Linked DNA regions of Homo sapiens: all the other regions are linked to region 2. The links are contacts of gene promoters, found by promoter capture Hi-C in human tissues and cell types (Jung and others, 2019). All regions are on one chromosome and are shown on one strand. The core of a region is centred on a gene start or on the middle of the fragment in contact, and the rest is flanking DNA. Distances in the headings are between cores, read along the strand shown. Region 1 overlaps SLC25A21 (solute carrier family 25 member 21). Region 2 holds the start of SLC25A21-AS1 (SLC25A21 antisense RNA 1). Region 3 overlaps SLC25A21 (solute carrier family 25 member 21).

Evidence for each region. Contacts are between HindIII fragments. The study calls those that stand out against the background at their distance.
Region 1: a fragment that was not itself captured here is called in contact with the fragment with the promoter of SLC25A21-AS1 in region 2 in 1 of the 25 tissues and cell types used here (heart right ventricle).
Region 3: a fragment that was not itself captured here is called in contact with the fragment with the promoter of SLC25A21-AS1 in region 2 in 1 of the 25 tissues and cell types used here (dorsolateral prefrontal cortex).

The regions. Positions count from the first base shown.
Region 1 is chr14:36,700,096-36,702,795 of GRCh38, forward strand. All of the region lies in intron 7 of SLC25A21 (solute carrier family 25 member 21), which reads right to left. Among named protein-coding and RNA genes, the nearest start is that of PAX9, 40 kb to the left of the region's middle. The HindIII fragment of the contact is 5,988 bases long and covers 1-2,700 here.
Region 2 is chr14:37,170,705-37,173,404 of GRCh38, forward strand. SLC25A21-AS1 (SLC25A21 antisense RNA 1) reads left to right here and starts at 1,322. Exons shown (of 1, transcript NR_033240.1): 1 at 1,322-2,700. SLC25A21 (solute carrier family 25 member 21) reads right to left here and starts at 1,902. Exons shown (of 10, transcript NM_030631.4): 1 at 1,577-1,902. The coding sequence starts at 1,646. RefSeq lists enhancers at 1,017-1,596, 1,597-2,175. The HindIII fragment of the contact is 15,552 bases long and covers 1-2,700 here.
Region 3 is chr14:36,762,818-36,765,849 of GRCh38, forward strand. The region is part of intron 3 of SLC25A21 (solute carrier family 25 member 21); the gene reads right to left. Among named protein-coding and RNA genes, the nearest start is that of PAX9, 100 kb to the left of the region's middle. The HindIII fragment of the contact is 3,313 bases long and covers 1-3,032 here.

The DNA.
Region 1 (2,700 bases), core at 95-2,594, 470 kb before region 2:
CACCAAAATTTAATACAATACCACCTCAAGCTATCCTCCTACCACAGCCTCCCAAAGTGCGAGGATTACAGGCATGAGTCACTGTGCCCAGACCATGCCAACTTCTTGATGTAAAAATAAAACACATTCTTCCTCCCTTCCTTTCCATCCCCTTCTTCCAACAAATCCCCCACAATCTATTTGTGCACAGTCTTTGGCTGCATTTAAGAAAGGTGTGTGTTCATGTCACAGGAATGCTTGATCCTAGTGTACTCTGCATTTGATCAATGAAAAACTGCAGTATTCTGTTTAGATCTGACATTGATATGGACAAATGTGATGCACTATAGTAGGACAGATGGGCTGCTCAGAGGACTGGAAGCCATGTCACCAGAAGAGTGAATGGGCAGCTGTGGGTATACTCTGAAGAAAGAAAGACCCAAAGGGTCATGTGTCCACATATTTGAAGAAGTATGTAGAGTACAATGATTAAGAGCATGGGCCCTGGGGTCAGATTGCCTAGGGTCAGGCCTTTGAAAGGAGTTAGTGGAGACAGGCAACAGGCTCTCACACTCTTTTTGAAGACTTGTTCAAAATATCTAAAGAAAAGGGATATGCCATGTCACCCTCCTCTTGTGTATTTACTGAGCCTGACACATCATAGGTATGTAATAAATGCCTTAGCTTCCTTTAATAAAACATAATAAACAAAGAACCAAGGTTTCAGAAGCAAATTACAAAGGAGGCAGATACACACACTGGTTAAGCACCTGGTAGCAACCGCAAGGCAAATAATAGCAGCTCATCATTGTCTTGCCCACAGCTGGGTATGGTGGTCATGAAAATGATGTGGTGCATTGGAATCATAGTTGCCTCCTGGTAACTGAACAAGGAGGCAGCTTAAGTGAGAGTGAACTGCCTTTTTTTTAAGAGGAAATTTGCATTTTAGCTATTGTTAGTTCTAATAGGTCCAAGTCAGCTTACAAGTAGAGTCAGCTCTCACTATACAACTTTCATTCCTTCTAATCTTGGCTCTCTTTTGTTGTTTTGTTCATAAACTTTGACAAAAACATTTTCCTCCCAATGTCATGGTATCCTGCTATTTTGTCCCCAGTGAAAATATCTGCTATTGAAGCTTAATTAAAAAATACATTTGTTTTTACTTCACTGCTATCAGAGGAATCTATTACAGTGTTTGTTTTCTCTTCATGCGAGATAATTTAGGGAAATGCTAGCTCCCCACTCCACAGAAGGTCACTAACTAAAATGAGATGCTTCAACTGATAAGCATTCTTTAAGGAATGTGGAGTATTCCTAAGATCCTATCCTTGCAGGGCTCTGGGCTTTGGAATGAAATCAAAGTCTTGTTAAAACCTCTGCATCTAAATGTAGCCATTCAGAAAATAGCCATGAAAATTCCTTTTTTTCCTCTAAGTTGTCTGTTCTTTAAAGTATTGTAAAATGTAGAATAATTTTAAAGGTTTTACCCACTTAGCTCAAATTATAAAATATACATATATATAATGTCAAAATGGATTATGGTTTAGGCATAATAGTTATCTCTTGATTATATCATCTCCTGTATATATTTCACAGATATAATATGTATTGTATATACCTATATATTCAGGTGGTTAGATAATACCACCTAGGAATTAATTATGTATTGAGTATTATATAGAATACAGGAAAGTATTTATATATTTCCTTGGGAACCCAGCAGGATATTTCTGTTGTAGTGTGTTCTCTCTGTTCCTTGACTCAATAAAGGCACTGACCCCAAGGAAAACTAGCAAGCCAGGTTCCCAAAACAAAACTCTAGAGATTGAGAAACCAGAGGGAGCACACTGAGATGCTTCAACATGGAGGTAGAGAGATAATCAAGAAGAAGTCTTTGAACCAAGCTAGTTCAATGAGATTATACCTGTGAACTTCCATACATGAAACTTTCCCATGTCCATTTAGTTCCACTTATGTAATATGTCTGTTCCATATAACCCCCAGTTAAATAATTTAAGGGGAGTAAGTTGCCTTTATATTATGTGCCTAAAACATTCTGGTCAAGCTAACCTCTGCAGCCTCCATTTCTCCTTCTCTACTGGTTCTCCATGCACCAGCAACACTCATTCTTAATCTTCTCTGGGGTCCCTGAGTTTCTTTCTGCTTCAGGATAGTCACATTCCTGTTCTTTCTGCCTGGTTCATTCAACCTCTTCAGGTTGGCGTGGTTTGTCCTCATCCTTCAGCCCAAGCCCAAACATTGTTTCCAAAAAAGACCTTTCTAGCCAGGTTCGGTGGCTCATCCCTGTAATCCCAGCACTTTGGTAGGCCGAGGCAGGAGGATCACTTGAGCCCAGGAGTTGGAGATCAGTCTGGGCAACACAGGGAGATCCTGTCTCCACAAAAAAAAAAAAAAAAAAAAAGAAAGAAAGAAAAAGAAAAAAAAAGAAAACGGACTTCCCTACACCATCTCCCTGCCCCATCATGGGTCTAGATTAGAATACTTGTTTATAAATTCTCACAGCTTGATAGTTATCTTGCATGGCACTTAGCACAATTGGAATGATTCAGTTCCTTGTGCAATGATTTGTTTATTGTCTATTTCCTCTATTAGACTGTAAACGTCATTAAGAGAGGAGCAATGCTGATGCTTCCTAAGAGGGTGCCCAACATACAGTAGATGCACCATGAATACTTTTGGAATGAATGAATAGAATAGACC
Region 2 (2,700 bases), core at 72-2,571:
TTGCTTGAACCCAGGCGTTGGAGACCAGCCTGGACAACATGGTGAAACCCTGACTCTACAAAAAAAAAAATCCCCTTCCCCCACCTCCCCAAAAAACTAGCCGGGCATGGTGGTGGGCTCCTGTAGTCCCAGCTACTCTGGAAGCTGCAGTGAGAGGATCACTTGAGCCCGGGAGGTTGAGACCAGCCTGGGCAACATGGCGAAAGCCCGTCTCTACAAAAAAAATTAAAAAAAAAAATAGCCGGCATGGTGATGCGCATCGGTAATTCCAGCTACTCAGGAGGCTGAGATGGGAGGATTGCTTGAACCCGGGAGTTGGAGCAGCGAGCCGAGATCGCGCCATGGCAATCCAGCTCCGGTGCCTTCCAGTCTGGGCAACAGAGAGAGACTCCATCGAAAAGAAAAAGGGGGGAGGGGAGGGGAGGGGAGGGGAGGGGTGGGGAGGGGAGGGGAAAGATTTTACAATTTCCTGTAAGCAATGAATGGCTCTAATGTGATATTGATGAAATACCATCTTTAAGAAAGTGTACAGATTGTAAGTGACACGTGGCTGCTTACGTTACTCCTGAGATGCAAGTAGATCATGACATAATGATAACCAGTCATAATTTGCAGTAATCCCTTACAAAAAGTCCAAATTTGTTTGAAAATACAGAAACTTTTACTAGTCGAAGTTAAACATTAAACATTTTCTAGTCATTGCCTTAACAGGATTTATTAGAGTTACTATAATTTATTGAAAGAATGGCTAGATTTATAAAATGTTTTCTGGTTATGAGCCAATTATGGCAATTATTTTAATTATATATTTATAATAAAAATGCATGACTGTAAGATAAAATTTTAAACCAAATCATAATTTATATTTTAAAATAGCTTTAAAATACTTGCACATAACACATGTCGTGGTTAGTAACTTTCTCCAGCTACATTTAAAAGTATTTCTAAGATTAATTACAACATTTTTTTCTAAAGGTTTATTTTTTCCCCACAGCATAACTCTATAAATTAACGTGAGCCCATTATATCAAAGGTGTTTATGTGTGTTACATATGCATTTAATTTTAATATCCTTATTTAAGGCACGAATATCCCCAAGCAAGCACAGTATGCAATAAGAAGTCCTGTGGAGTCCTGTAAGTACTTTGATGAGGAATGCAGGATTTATGTAAGACCTGAGCGAGCTTGAAGAAAGACTCTACAATTGATAAAACTAAGTCAGACCGAACTGGATCATTTTCAAGTAAAATAGGTAGCAAGGCAAAAAGACCGCCTCAAAGTCGCTGCCCTTGGGGCTCTGCCACTTGCTTTACAGGCTAGGAACGGACAATGCCGGGAACCCGAGAGCGGCCGGCGCGGACGCCGAGGCAACTTTACTTGGGGCACCCACTACTCGCAATCAACTCCCGGCCTCCTCTGCTCTCGCGCCTCTAGGGGCTCAAGCACTGCTCCGGGAGCGCTGAATTTTGAGGAAGAGGGCAGAACTTCAGTAAGGAGACCTGTCTGGGCAACGGTTTCAGGACACGCGGTGGGGAAAGCGACTAGCCTCCGGCGGGGCAGGGCGGGCTGTCCTTACCTGCAGAACCACCGGCCACGATCTGCCGAGAAGCCTCGCGCACTAAGCTGACTTCAGGCTTGGCGGACATCTTCGCCAGGCGGGAGGACAAGGGAGTGGGCTGAGATGCGTCAACGAGCTCGCAGCCTGCACAGCCTACTGATCCAGAGAGCCCCGGCTGGGCTGGTCCTCAAGCGCGTTGGCTCCCTGTGGAGCAGCAATCCGGCGACTGCTGGAAAGCGAGGGTTCGAGGCGCAGATTCGTCGCGCGATCTCCGGCGCGTCGGAACCTGTTCGCAGCGCTCTCGCAGAGGCGCCCTCGGCTCCGAAAATGTCTCTGGAAAGAAGACCCGCGGATGGGTTTGGGTTGGCTCACCGCAGCGGCTCAGGCTTTGTCTCCTAGATTGGCGCCCACGCCCTTCTCTATCAGGAGCCTCCGGTAGTTTGTCAAACTAGACGGTTGCCTCTGATAACTCAAGTGAAGTGACCCAGGCCTGGAGCGCCAAGTACAAAGCGGGGACGACACTTGCACCTCCTGGCAAGCCAGAGCACAGTGAGGTTCAAAAGAAGGGACAAGTGAATAAATTCCTCAGTTAGTTGTCCTATAATTGTGGTCTGTAGCAACTAAGTCAAAGCAAATCTAATTTACACTTACCTTACAATAGAGCTAAGGTAGTACTTTACCAAAAATGGTTTTGATTTAAGGTAAAATCATACCTCATCAACTTGAGTTTTATTTACCTAAGGACCAAAAGAAGAAAAAGCCTGGTTACAAATAGTTTCTTCTATACCCAGGTCAGTGGTTCTTAAAAGTGGTTTTAGTACCCACAGCATCAGCATAATTTGTGAATGTGTTAGGAAGTCAAATTCGTGGGTCCCACCCCGACCTAAACGGAATCAGAATCTCTGGGGATAGGGCCCAGAAACGAGTTCTCTGTTGATTGTCATGAACTTTAAAGGTTGTGAACCACTGACTTAAACAATTGAGGAACATTAAGGAACTTAACAGTATATTCTCTCAATAAAATGTTTGATTATTCTTACTAGCCCCTTAGGATAGTTACCAAAACAAAACTACTAATTTATACTCTTTTAAAACTACAAGTTGCCTGTGTTATGTAGGAGAGATATAAGATTGTGAAATTT
Region 3 (3,032 bases), core at 383-2,882, 410 kb before region 2:
GCCAAGCAAGCCCTCAGTAAATTTTAGTATTAGCCTATCTCTCTAGCACAAAGCAGAGTTTAAGAATACGTCATTATCTTGAATTAATCCAACATACTTATTCAGACAATTTAGCAAAAATAAACCTATTACCTAAATTATATAGACCCTGGTAGCTATGTGGATACATGAGCTTACAACTACCATAAGAAGGTGAACATCATGTCATAATTATCTTCCTGTAGTTTAAAATGCCTGCCTTAAAGCACGAAAAGCAAAGAGATTAGGTCTTGGAATTTCAAAAAGTAAGAGTTGTTTTATAAAACAAGCAAAACATGCTAACTAAATTATATCTAATGCAGACTCCCAAACACAAATGAAAAATGAAAACACTGATTCTGAGATAGTATTTAATTATTATCACAGAGGCCCAGATCTGAGTTTTTCTCTGGAAGGATTTAGGACTGTAAGAACATTCATTTGTCTATTTGCTCACTCATTAAATCATTCTCTTTTATTTGTGTAACAAATATTTACTGAGTGCTGCTAAGTTGGACTCAGTTAGTGCTGGAGATATTAGGGTGAATCACATAAACTTTTTCCCTGTCCTTGTGGGGTTTCCAGTCCACTGGGAGGGAGAGGATATTACACTATTACAAAGGGGATGAATGTTTTCAAAGAGAACTCTGCCTCTTAATCACTCTGCCACTGGAGGGAAGGGAAACAGGAAGAACTTTGAACTGTTTGTGCTGGGTAAGAAATGCTTACTGGACCACCTCAGGTATTTGGGTGGTGGTGGTAGGGGGTCTGGAAATAGCTTTTTACTGTTGTAGAGGGGTCCTTGCTTGATTTGATGTGGGTGCTCATGTAGGAATCAGACACAGTAGAGCACACCGGGAAGACCAGAAAAGGCAGCCTATCAAGTCCATTATTAGAAATTGTTTAGCTTCCCAGGCAGGTGAGGTGGCTCATGCCTGTAATCCGAGCACTTTAGGAGGCCGAAGCAGGTGGATCACAAGGTCAGGAGTTCAAGACCAACTTGGCCAAGATGGTGAAAACCTGTCTCTACTAAAAATACAAAAATTAGCCAGGTGCAATGGTGGGCACCTGTAATCTCAGTTACTTGGGAGGGTGAGGCAGGAGAATTGCTTGAACCCAGAAGGTGGAGGTTGCAGTGAGTGGAGATCGTGCCACTGCACTCTAGCCTGGGTGACAGAGCAAGACTCTGTGAAAGAAAGAAAAAGAAAGAAAGAAAGAAAGAAAGAAAGAAAGAAAGAAAGAAAGAAGGAAGGAAGGAAGGAAGGAAGGAAGGAAGGAAAGAAGGAAAGAAGGAAAGAAGGAAAGAAGGAAAGAAAGAAAGAAAGAAAGAAAGAAAGAAAGAAAGAAAGAAAGAAAGAGAAAGAAAGAAACTGTTAGCTTCCCAGGACAAAACTCATCTCAAGGGAGGAGCCAGCTAGGAACACTCACTCGGTCCAATAACAATGCCACCTCTCTGAGTCACAGCCTTGCCTTTCATTGAGATGGCTCCCCTGGCCCAGCCCCCAGTAGAAACTGTGTCTGTGTCCTGGGGAAGGCAGCCATGAATTACAAACAGAAACCATGGAGAAAAAAAGCCAGCCCAAGGAGAGTGGTTTTCTTATATAGGCTCCATGAGATTGAAGCACAAGCTGCCACGCGTGAAGAACGAGGTAATAGTAACAGAAGGGATTCCAGATTTATGCACACTCACCCACACTCCAAAAAAAAAAAAAAAGCCAAAACAAAACAAAACAAAACAAAACAAAAAACAAAAAAAACCATGCATGCACACACACACACTCCAAAAAAAAAAAAAAAACCACGCATGCCCACATACACACACACATCCCTTCTCTGGCTTAGGACCCAGCATGCTTTGAAGTGTTTGGAGCTCCAGCAGTTCAGCCAGTGGCCCAATGTCAAGTACTCCATCAGCAGGGGAGGCAGCAACTGCAGCTTCCTTAGTAATGGGAGGCGGTGCCCCTAAACTGTTGTTCTGATGGCAGGTCCCCAGCAGGGTCTGTGAAGAGACACCTCATATGGCTACATGTATTGCAGGAATCCTTCTGCACAGAGGATCTGAACTGGGAGGAAGAACATGGTGAGCCACAAGATTACGGGCCATCTTGCTTTTAAGAACAGATAAGCATTTTGAGCAGACTTCCAAAACTAGTTGAGAGGCCAGGAGGGCCTATGTCCCTTCTCTTTAAATCTCAATGGGCTCTGTGATTTCCTTGACCAATAGAATATGGGAGAAGTGATGCTGGGCCAGTCACTTGGCCCAGGCCTTATGCAGCTAGAAGCTTCCAGCTCCATATTTTGAAATGCTTGTTCTTAGTGTCCTGCATTGCTAAGAAGTCTGACTAATCTGAGGCTGCCATGCTCTAAGAAGCCCAGGCTGCATGAAGAGGCCCTGGAGGATGAGACTTCATGTGGAGAGAGCGAAATGCCAAGGAGCATTGCAGGACCAGAAACGCAAGTAAAGAGACCACATTGGAAGTGATCATCTAGCTCCAGCTGCCTCAGCTGACTACATGGAGCAGAGGGGAAGCACCCAGCCAAGCCCTTCCCAAATTCCTAACCCTCAAAAGGGTAAACAAAATAACATGGTTGTTTTAAGCCCCAGTGTTTTGGGGTAGTTTGCTACACAGCAGAGGATGACTGGAAACAGAGGCCTGAAGGAAAAGTACAAGTACCAATGATTTAGAAGATGGTTGCCAGAGAGAGAAGCCAACATTGTATATCATGGCTTACTGTTGTGCTTCCAGTATGCTGTGGCCTGGGAAAACTCAGATTATACTAGAAAAGATGAAAAGTTAAAGACAGGAAGAAGGTTCCACACTGTACTGTCTTGGCATTCCTCTGTGTATCCTTTTCCTCTGCTACCCTCAACGTGTATGTTTCAAAGGATCTTGAAACATCTTGAAACAAAGGATCAAAGCCGTTGAACTTTCCCTTCTCTCACTTGCATATTATTTACTCTCTTCACCTTCTCGCCCCTCCATACAGATGGCAATACATGCAGGTCTAAGCCT